Regions from separate parts of the Homo sapiens genome. Here region 1 is linked to region 2. The links are contacts of gene promoters, found by promoter capture Hi-C in human tissues and cell types (Jung and others, 2019). All regions are on one chromosome and are shown on one strand. The core of a region is centred on a gene start or on the middle of the fragment in contact, and the rest is flanking DNA. Distances in the headings are between cores, read along the strand shown.

What was found. Contacts are between HindIII fragments. The study calls those that stand out against the background at their distance.
Region 1: a fragment that was not itself captured here is called in contact with the fragment with the promoter of GPR3 in region 2 in 2 of the 25 tissues and cell types used here (bladder and spleen).

The regions. Positions count from the first base shown.
Region 1 is chr1:27,325,372-27,331,008 of GRCh38, reverse strand. It overlaps TMEM222 (transmembrane protein 222), which reads right to left. Exons shown (of 6, transcript NM_032125.3): 2 at 205-289. It also overlaps the pseudogene ACTG1P20. Among named protein-coding and RNA genes, the nearest start is that of TMEM222, 6.0 kb to the right of the region's middle. The HindIII fragment of the contact is 5,020 bases long and covers 652-5,637 here.
Region 2 is chr1:27,389,758-27,395,517 of GRCh38, reverse strand. GPR3 (G protein-coupled receptor 3) reads right to left here and starts at 2,896. Exons shown (of 2, transcript NM_005281.4): 1 at 2,781-2,896; 2 at 1-1,724. The coding sequence starts at 1,719. The coding sequence ends at 727. RefSeq lists enhancers at 508-1,305, 2,134-2,669, 3,207-3,743, 3,744-4,280 and a silencer at 2,693-3,192. The HindIII fragment of the contact is 10,052 bases long and covers 1-5,760 here.

The DNA.
Region 1 (5,637 bases), core at 1,912-4,411, 65 kb after region 2:
GCCACACTGCCCTCCCGGCCTGTCCTGGAGGCAAGAGAAGGGGGAAAGGGGTCAAACACTGGTGAGGGGCAGAGGGCCAGGGCCAGGACTGCGGGTTATCTACGTTCTCCTGGGTCTGGGGAGACGAAGCCTGCCTGCAGGCAAGACAGGACAGCCTTCCACTTAAACCTTGGAACCCCCCGGGTGGGCAGAATGGGGACTCACTGAGACAAAGTAGGGGCCCGCGAAGTCCCGAATGACTCCTGTGGATGTGCAGATGCCCATGTGGCCGATGATGGGGAAAAACCACCTGTGAGGAAAAGGACGGGGAAGGGACAGAGCTTAGGGGATCTTTCAGCCAGTTAGACGGACGCTGGGGACCCTTCATACAGTACAGAAGCATGTGAATATTACGTTTCATTGACAGGTGGCCATTAGGGTGGTCCAGAAGGCTGGGGAAGCACAGACAAGGGTAACTGCAAACCGACAGCACAATGGGATACCTCAGCATCCCGCCAGGATGGCTGTAACTCAAACGACAGCAACACCAATGCAGGTGAGGGCAAGGGACAACCAGAGCTCTCATTCACTGCTGGTGGGAGGGATAAACTGTTTCTACCTTTTTTTTTTTTTCAAATGGAGTCTCGCTCTGTCGCCCAGGCTGGAGTGCAGTGGCACAATATTGGCTCACTGCAACCTCCGCCTCCCGAGTTCAAGCAATTCTCCTGCCTCAGCCTCCTGAGTAGCTGGGACTACAGGTGTGCACCACCACGCCTGGGTAATTTTTGTATTTTTAGTAGAGATGGGGTTTCACCATGTTGGCCAGGATGGTCTCGATCTCTTGACCTCGTGATCCACGTGCCTTGGCCTCCCAAAGTGCTGGGATTACAGGCATAAGCCACTGCACCCGGCCTACCATTTTGTTTTTGAGATGGAGTCTCGCTCTCTTGCCCTGGCTGAAGTGCGGTGGCACAATCTCAGCTCACTGCAACCTCCGCCTCCTGGGTTTAAGCAATTCTCCTGCCTCAGCCTCCCGAGTAGCTGGGACTACAGGAGTGCACCACCATGCCTGGCTAATTTTTGTATTTTTAGTAGACATGAGGTTTCATCACGTTGGCCAGGCTGGTCTCGAACTCCTGACCTCAAGTCATCTGCCTGCCTCGGCCTCCCAAAGTGCTGGAATTACAGGCGTGAGCCACCGTACCCGGCCTGTTTCTACCATTCTGGAAAACAGTTTGGCACTATACTAAATGCCTCAGCAGTTTCACTTTTGGAACCTTCTTTGCCCTCACCCCTGGGAAATAACATTTGCCAAAACTCATTGAACTGTACTCTTAAAATGTGTACATTTTATTATATGTAAACTATAATTCAATAAAATTGATAAAAACAACTAGAAAGAATCCAAATGTTCAACAACAGTACGATGAATAAGTGTGGTATAGTTATACATTGAAATAGTCCATAACAATGAAAAACAGTGTCACTTCTGCTACACACAACACAGGCTTTCACAGACATAAGGGTGAATGAAGGAAATCTTACACAGAGTACGTAACATAGCACTCTGTTTACGTGAAGTCCAAGAAAAGGCAAGACTGATCTATGGCTAGAGGTCCACAGCGGGGTGGAATCTGTGGTAGAACTGACTGGGAGGGCACAAGGGGGTCCTCTGGGTCTTAGCATTGCTTTCTAGCCCCCGTCTGGGTGGCGGTTACATGAGTGTGTGATATGCAAAAATTCTTCCTGCTGTATACTTGAGATTCGCACACCGTTTGGTACATAAGTTATACCTCAATAAGAAAGTTAAAAAAAAAAAAAAAGGTGGGCGGTCATGACACCAGTATGGGTGGGGGAGTTCAGGAAAGGCTTCCCTGAGGAAATAACAAAGAAACAGAATGTGCAAGGGTAGAAATTGGAACAGAAGCATGGTGTATGCCAGGAAATAAAAGTTCCTTTTTTATAAACCATGGGCATTAAAAAACAACAATAAATCTCAGATGCACCCCAATATGTCACACATAGGAACCCCAGACCTGTCTGTGTTCTGAGAACCATGGCCCTACAGGACCTGGGTGCTGGAGAGACTGATCCAGTTTAAGGAGAACTCACAGGGCCAGTGGCCGAGTCCTGGCCTCAATGCTGCCTGGGCACGAGCATAAAGCACCTGGCTAGGGGTGCAGGCCAAGCCTCCAGAGACGCAGTTTAAAAAAGCAGTTACAGGGGGCTGGGGTGGAGCCAGTAAAGACTTCACAGAGGAGGTGACTTTTAACCTTGACCTGTGAAAGGACACAACATCAACAGGCAGAAAACAACACTGCAGAGCAAGAAAGTGGTACATGTGCCTGGAAGAACGAAAGGGGGAGAGGCCAGCTCAGGGGCTACTGCTGTACCACTGGCAAGAGATGATGGAGGTCCTGACTAGAGGATCAGGGGCAGGGTGGTGAGAAACACATGGATTCAAAAGATCTTTCAAATGAAGACTGGAGAGTTTACGACTGACAGGATGGGGGTCTTCCAGGTCTACAGCTTGAGCGCTTGAGACAATGGTAGGGCCAGAGTGGTCTTTTGAGAATTGAACTCAGATTCCATCATTCCCCTGTTCAACACCTATTAATGGCTTCCTACTACACTTATAATACACTTCGAACTTCTTCCAACACTGTGGTGCTAATTATCCCTTGAACTTCATCTCAGTCCCCTCTCTAGCTACACTGCCTGCTTGTGGCCTCAAACACGCCAAATCCTCCCACCCCATGCTTTCTCTGTATCTGCCCTCTCCTCCGTCTGGAACACTCTTCCCAGAGAGCATGGCACAGCTGACTCCTCACTGATTAGGCCTCAGCCTCACTGTCACCTTCGGAGGTCTTGCCTGAACGGTGTCTTCCAGCACAGCCACCCAATCCCAGATCCCACTACAATGCTTTACTTCCCTCATAGTATCTACTACCATCCAAAATTATCTTGGTTATTTATATGCTGTCTCTCCACTAGAACATAAGCTCCAAGAGAGACAGGATTTTTTCTTGTTTACTACGGCAGTGCCTGTATATAGCTGCAACTCACTAAATATTTGTTGACTAAATAATGAATGAACATCCTGCATTTAAGAGTAGAGTCTGGGGCTGGGTGCTGTGGCTCACGCCTGTAATCATAGCACTTTGGAAGGCCAAGGCAGTTGGATTGCTTGAGCCCAGGAATTTGAGACCAGCCTGGGCAACACAGTGAGACCCTGTATCTAAAAAAATCTAAAAATTAGCTGGAGGATCACTTGATCCAAGGAAGTTGAGGCTGTAGTGAGCCAAGGCTGGGCCCAGGAAGTTGAGGCTGCAGTGAGTCAAGGCTGGGCTCAGTGGCTCACGCCTGTAATCCCAGCACTTTGGGAGGCAGAGGCCGGTGGATGACTTGAGGTCAGGAGTTCGAGACCAGCCTGGGAAACATGGCGAAACCCTGTCTATACTAAAAATACAAAAATTAGATGGGCATGGTGGCATGTGCCTGTAATCCCAGCTACTCGAGAGGCTGAGGCACGAGAATCACTTGAACCCCGGAGGCGGAGGATGCAGTGAGCTGAGATCACGCCACTGCATTCCAGCCTGGGTGACAGAGCAAGACTCTGTCTCTAAATAAATAAATAAATAAAAATTAAAAACAACAAACAAACGCCAACAGTGAAGTCATGCTCAGATATCATCTGGGTTGAGGCTTGCCTTTGTTCTGGGCAAGTTACTAATTCCCATCTCTCTGTGGATAGTAAAAATTACCTTAATGAGGAGCTATTGTGAGGATTAAATGGATAGACTTATCCATTTACACAGTGCCTAGGACTCTGCCTTCCGCTTGGCAGCTGCTCAATGTTGTCATCTCGAGGTGTTCAATACATAAGCACTATCTGACTGACTGCACTAACATAGAATAAGTTGCAGAAGATCCACAGGCCACAGGATGGACATTCAGGATTATGGGAAAGTAGCTCATCCTGATCTCAGGACTGCCCTCCACCCCCATCTCTGCCCCCTAATCCTTTCATCTGCTTGGGAGGAAGTCTGGGTCCAACCAGGATTCCACACGCCACAGCTGTGCTGGCAGCAGTGGATGGAAATCAGAGTAAAGGCTGGAAGCCCCAGAGAAGAAACCCTCAAAGTGGTTTGTCAGCCTGGAAGCTCCAGGAAGGCAGCTCCAGAGCCGCTTTGTGGACTACCTTCTATTCAGGACCTAGTACATAATAGGTGCTTTATAAAGATACAATAAATGAATAAATGACTCACTCATCCTGGAGCTCAATCTGGGAAGGTAGGCTAACTCAGCAAAAGAGCACCACACTGGCTTCTAAGCCTTACTTCCTCATCTATAAAATGGTGACAACAGTATCTACTTTCATAGGTTGACATTAGGATTGAGTGAGTGAACATACAATGTTTAGGACAGAGTAAGCATCTAATCTTAGCTGTTTTTATTAGTAGCAGCAGCTATTAAACTAGTTTCTTTTTTTTCCCTTTTTTTTGGTTACAGCAGCACTTTTATTTTTCCTTACACAATGACATGCCGCTGGGGCCTAATGTTCTCACATAACAGTAGAAAACCAAAATCTGTTCTCATCTCCTTAAAGAATCGAGAATTGCATACAAAAAAAAACCTTACATAAATTAAAAGGATGAATACATTTACAGGTGTAAATGCAAACTGCTTCCAACTCAAAGCAAGTCACAGCCCACAGTGTTCTGGCAGGAAAACATCAGCTAAGAAAGGAAACTGGGTCCTATGGCTTGGCCTTTCCAACCCTGACAGACCAGCAGGACAGAAACAACTGGTTCAGGAGCCCTTGTCAGCCTCTAGAGAAATCCCAGAACACTCAGCCATGACATATTAATACCCTGCAAAGATCGGAGACTGCTGGCCATGCAGACTCACCAAGTCGCACTTGTCTTCCACAAGCACATTCTTACCTTGCCACGCAGTGACCAAGCCACATGTACTAAGGGTTGAAAGCAAAGATATGTACAGGGTATTAAACAAATACCAAGGGGAACAGTTAACTTGAATACAAGGTCAAAATCAGCAACAAGTTCTACAATCCAGTGCTGATATTAGATACAAGCTTCAACGACAATTTCTTTTCGAAGGCTTATTCCATTTTCGTGAGGCTAGCATGAGGTATATGCATTTGCCAGGGCCAATTTATACTTCTGAATTAACCCATGCAGCAAATGCTACGCATCGGCTCGCAGTCCATTTAGAAGCATTTGCGGTGGACGATACAGGGGCCTGACTCGTCATACTCCTGCTTGCTAATCCACATCTGCTGGAAGGTGGACAGTGAGGCCAGGATGGAGCCGCTGATCCACACAGAGTACTTGCACTCTGGGGGCACAATGAGCTTGATCTTCATGGTGCTGGATGCCAGGGCGTTAATCTCCTTCTGCATCCTGTCGGTGATGCCCGGGTACATGGTGGTGCCTCTGGATAGCCCTATGTTGGTGTACAGGTCTTTGCGGATGTCTACGTCACACTTCATGATGGAGTTGAACGTGGTCTCGTGGATGCCGCAAGATTCCATACCCAGGAAGGAAGGCTGGAACAGCGCCTCCGGACACTGGAACCGCTTGTTGCTGATGGTGATGACCTGGCCATCCGGCAGCTTGTAGCTCTTCTCCAGGG
Region 2 (5,760 bases), core at 1,647-4,146:
GCTTCTTAAAAAAATAAAAAACCAGAGGCTGGTGTGTTCCCCTTCCAAACCCGAGGAGGGCAGGCCTGGGGAGAAGGCTCTGGTTTCTATGATCTCTTCGATAAAAAATAATCCAAAATAATAACAAAATACGTGGTTTCTCTTTCACCCTTTCCCCCCTCCAGGAACTGAGGTCAGAAATGGGGGTGAAGGGACAAGGGATACCCTGGTATGGCCTGGATATCAAGGTGTGGGCCTCTTTTTTGCCCCTTACCACCCATAAGTAAATTTATAAATAAATAAATCAATCATAAATAGACACTGTCTTTGTATATGTGCATATATAATCTTTCTCTCTCCTATTTAGGCAACTATGTGACTAATCTCTCTGACTCTTTAGCTCAGAAATTCAAACATAAAGTGACATGGTCAAGGTCAAGTTTGGGGGAAGAGGGACATCTGGGACTTGGAATGGCACTGTAAAACTCCCAGCATTCTGGAATTGCAACCCAGCTGGGCTGTGAGACATTTCTGAGTAGAACACTGACCACCTGAACATTCTGGAACCGTGGAGCCAGCTGGGCCCCCATAGGGATCTGAACAGAACCTTGAAACACCCAATGTCCTAGAACTCCAGAACCAGCTGGGTCTGGGGGGTGTGGAGCTGGGGGTTTGGAAAGAAGCCCTGGAGAGCCTAACATTCTGGAATTCTGTAGTAATCAGGGTTGAAGGGTCATGAAGACTCAGCTAGACATCACTGGGGGAGCGGGATCGGAAGGGGATCTTGGAAGAGGAACAGCAGCAGCAGACAGCCCACAGCACTTTCTGCACATCCTGGTTGCGGAAGGCGTAGATGATAGGGTTGATCATGGAGTTGTAGGTGGCAGGGAGCAAGGTAAGATAGGTGTAGAGAGGTGGAGAGTGGGCATCACCCAGCAGGCAGTAGACAGTGAAGGGCAACCAGCAGGCGGCAAAGGCTCCAAGCACCACGGCCAGTGTGGCAATGCCCTTGCGGGTGGCCACATAGTGGGAGGCAGGCAGCAGGTGCCGCTGAAGGGCAATCTGCTGGGCATGGCGGCAGACGATGCGGCAGATTTGGGCGTAGAGCTGCAGCATGATGCCAAACACCATGAAGAAGGCAATGGCCAGAACTACCAGATGGTTCTTGGAGAGTGGATAAACCACGCCACATGTGGTCAGGCCATCCAGGCAGTTCCAGGCCAGCACAGGCAGCAGCCCCAGGCCCAGGGCACCTCCCCACACTAAGGCCAGCATCACATAGGTCCGTGTCACTGTTGTCTCTGAATAGTAGGTGAGGGCATTGTACAGAGAAAGGTAGCGGTCGACAGTGATGGCCAGTAGACTGCCGATGCTGGCGGTAAAGGCCATTGCCAGCACGCCAACCAGCACCAGGCTCATCTCCGCTGAGCCGATGCAGAAGACAGCAGCAAAGTGCAGGACCAGGCCCAGGCCTGCCAGCAGGTCTGCCACGGCCAGGCTGCCCACCAGCAGGAACATGGGGGCACGGAAGGCAGGAGTGCCCACGATGATGGCCACCACTAGCGCATTCTCGCAGGACACCAGGGTGCCTGAGATGCAGAGCACCACATCCCAGGCCTTAGGCGAGGGCAGTGGTGCGGCTGGACCTGTGGGCCCCTCTGCTGGGCCCACGCTGCTTACATTCACGTTGCCTGAGCCAGCTGAGAGCCAGGCCAGAGGGCTGCCTGCACCCCACATCATGGTACCTGCAGGAGAAAGGCCTTGTGAGAAGCTGACCAAGCTGGGTGATGGGAGTTGGGGTCTGGAGGGGGTGAGGTGCTTCTCAGGATACGTGGTGGGAGTCTCTCCTCAGGATACCTGATAGGGTCCCAATGCCTTATCCCCACATTCATGCCCTGGGGCTCTTCCCAGGATACCGCTGTCCCCTCCAATGCCCCCAGGCCTCTAAACAGGGGTCTCTTCCTGGGGATCCCTGTCCTAGGTCCTGCAGGTCTCTTTTTCCCACGTGTGTGACCAGAGGAGAGACAGAAGAAGGGGTACTATAAGTGGAAGAGGGCCATAGGATCCAGGGGATGCCCCCGAAGGCTCAAGATTGGGGTAGGGAAACATCTACCCCATCAGGGAGACTGAGCAGCTCCGCTCCCTCCCATCAGAGATGATGATGCTAGCTCGTGCCTGAGGCTCCCAGACCCCTCACGATTTTCAGTACTGCCAGCCTTAGACTCCGCCCCCAGGGAATGCGCGTGAAGCTCCCGCCAGCCATCACCCCGCACTCCCGCGGTAACACCTGGGAACTCAGCCCCCCACCCCCCACCCTCCCAGACTTCTGTTCCTGGCTGGACCCTTCTTTCCGCCTGAATCTCTAGGTCTCTGGGCAGACCCCCCTGCTGGAAGACTGGATCCCTGAGTCAGATGCCTCCTTCTGCCCGGACACCTGGATTTTGGGCCTGACTCTGCCTCCTGCCTGGATACCTGGATTCCTAAATTGGACACCTCCTGCTGTTCGGACCCCTGGGTCCCTGCCCCAGACGCCTCCTGCCGGCTTAACCTCAGATGACCATCAGTCCCTCCAGGGCCTCGGGTCCCTGCAGGAATGCTTACCCTTCGCCGGGTCATCCAACTCAACCCCAGCACTCGAGCACTTGGGCCCAAGCCTGCTAACCCAGAATCGCCTAAACCCAGAATTCCCACCTCGAACTCGAACCCCGGCCGGCCACTAGGAGCCTTCCGCCGGCCCAGTGCCCCAGCATCCTGCGTGCCCTTCAGGACCCCTGGTGCCCGCGGCGGGGCCCGCTACTCACCGCTCAGGACCAGGCGCGGCCGGGCCGCGGGGAGGCTCCGCTCGGGTCCTGGCGGCGCAGGGCGTGCGTGGACCCCGAGAAGCCCCCGCGGCCGCGGGAGAAGCGGCGTGAGTCACCCCGCCCCGCCCCCGGCCACCGGTTCGGTGACGTCAGCGGTCCGATCAGCCAATGGGCGCGGCGCGCTGGGGCGCAGCGCGCGTTGCGCGGCATAGTAATAAGGCCTCGCACCGCCCGCTCCCCCATTCATAAAAAGCGACCGTGGCTGCGGCCCCGCCCCCTCCCGAGTCCGCCCGCGCTGTCCTTGACGCGGCGCCCTCTGCGGGCCGGGGGTTTCAGAGGCGCCGGTGCGAGAGCCTTGAAGTCTCAGAGAGGCTGCAGGGAACGTGGTGGAAGAGTGGAAAGGGGGCCCGGCTAGGCTGTGGGGTGATGGGACCCTTGGGTGGCAGAGAGGCTGACGAGATCCAGGTGACGAAGGAAGAGCTTGTGATGGGGCTGGTTGGGCTTCCCTGGTGAGAATGACAGGGTTTCCAAGATGATGGGGCCCTGAGGTGACGATGACAGGGAGCACGAGGGAGCGGGGAGGTGGGTGGCAGTGACGACATTAGCATGGTGACAGAATCTTGGGGTGGGGGGTGATGGCCGTGGGACGCTAACGGTAGAGGGGAAGCCCTCAGGGCAACCATGGCAGTGTCAGGGTGACTATGCAGCAGGGGGGAGTTCAGGGACCCCGGGATGGCAGAGGCAGCGGCCTGGGAACATGGAGTGTCCAGGTGACTTCAGGTCACCATTACCCTGTCAGAATGGCTGGGGTACTGAAGCGACAATGCTAAGCCATGAGGACTGTGGGGCCCTGGAACGAAGATAGCAGGTGGCTGTGGTGAGTGGGCTCCAGGGTGAGGGGCACAGGGTAGAGGGTCTGGACTGACAGTGACCAGGCAGGTAAGTTGCTGCCAGGGCAAGTCCCGTGATGCCGGGGCTGGGATAAGAGCTGGGTGACGTCACTCATGTCAGCCCAATAGCGCCCTCACAGCACCGGAGGGGTGGGCCTGGCAAGATTTCAAAACCTGAATTATTTATTCCAGTATCTAGAAAGCCAGCGTGGAGGGGGTGAGGGGTGCACTTCCCTGAAGCAGGAGGAGATGGGGAGCCGGGAAGAACTTGGAAGCAGAAAGCCTGGCAGCTCAGTCCTCAGGGCAGGCCCCTCTCAGCCTCCTATTTTAGGCATCCTGATGGGTGGAGCAAGGAGAAAGAGCTCCCTCTTCCCCAACGCCATCTGCCCTTAGTCCAGGGGAACCACTCTGGGCAGACTTCTCCAGATGTGACAGATGTGGCCAGTCCTGCGGCAGGGGGACTGGCTGCTCCTTCTCCCTGTGTCTCTTGCCTTGATGCTCCCTGGAATCATGCAGGCCTGTGGGAGGGGAAGATGAGGTTAAGAGGCCTGAGGATCCCAGGCCCCACTGGACACCCCCATCACAGCACCATCACTGCAGCCCCCATGGTCAGCCTCCACCAGGCAGGTTTTGGGTTTGAGTGTGAGGCAGCAGAAGGTCAAGTGGCAGGGAACATGGGAGGAGGAGGGGGTCGGAGCTGGAGAAGAGGATTCATTTCAGGTTGGATGTGGTGAGTTTAGGGGGCTTAGGGGGTGGAAGTGTCCAATCTCAGTTTCTCCATTTCCTAGCTGGGTGACTTTGGAGAGTTTCTTCAGCTCTCTGTGCCTATTTCCTCATCTAAAACACAGGGATAATATTAGTACCGGCCTCATGGGGTTGTTGAGTGGGTTCTACTTGCCATTGGCCATCAATGTTACAGCTGGATAATGAGGGACACCTGGGAGGTGTAGGCATGCAGGTGGCAACTGATGTTTTAGGGGTAAATAATGTCACCCAGGGGCGGGAGCAGAGAGTGAGGAGTGGCTTCAGGGGCTCCTCCTCCTGGGCTCTTGCACCTGACCCCTCTGACAACAACCCTTCTCTTCATCCAGGTCTCTGCTCCCGAATTACTTCTGAAACAGGCTGCTCTGAACTCTCAGATCGCCACTGGCCTCCCCATCACTCTCCCTCCCCTTCTCTTGATTTATTCATTTTTGGAGGATGAAGCACTCTTGAAATTATAAATGAATTCATGTTTGTTTGTTTTACTACATGTCAGCCCCACTAGAATCTAAGCTCCAAGAGGATACTGACTATGTCCCATTTCTGCTAGAGAACAGTGCCTGATATGTAATGGGTATTGAAGAAATAATCATGGACTGGATGATTGACCTAAAAGGGAACAACCAGAGGAAAAAAGGAAAACAGAGAGAATAGTAATATGCCTGGTGCCCAGGAAGGTGGGGGTGTCAGAGAGAGGATCCAAGGGCATCAGGGCCCCAAGACTCAGGGTCAGGGATCCATTTACTCCCCCATCAGAGCTGGGTCCCTACAGAGTTCTGGTCTCTGCGATGGGTGAAGGCTGCTGGGAGGTTGGCATCAAAGGGGGGTATCAGGGACTATCTTCTACTACTCTGAATGGCAATTATATATTTTTTAAGTTTTCGTAGCTTATTGATCCTCTGGTGAAAAATCTTCACCATTGCTGCAGATAAAGCCATTCCTGTTTGCCAGCACCAGCACCACACTCTTGTGACTCCCTGGCTGTCGTCATTCTGTTCTTGAGTTCCTTTAGCTGTTTTCTTGAGGTCTTTTTCTTTTATGTCTTGCAAGTCTGTGTTTGGATTAATTTTTCTTTGCATAATCCAAGGAATCATAAATCATAACCAAGCCAGTTGTCTTAACACCACCAAAATGGGTTCTGTCTTTTTTTTTCGTTTGTTTGTTTTTTGAGACAGGATCTCAGTCTGTCACCCAGGCTGGAGTGTAGTGGTGCAATCAATGCTCACTGTAGCCTCAACCTCTTGGACTCAAGCAATCCTCCCATCTCAGCCTCCACAGTAACTGGGATTACAAGCACGTGTCACCACGCCTGGCTAAGGCGTGTAATT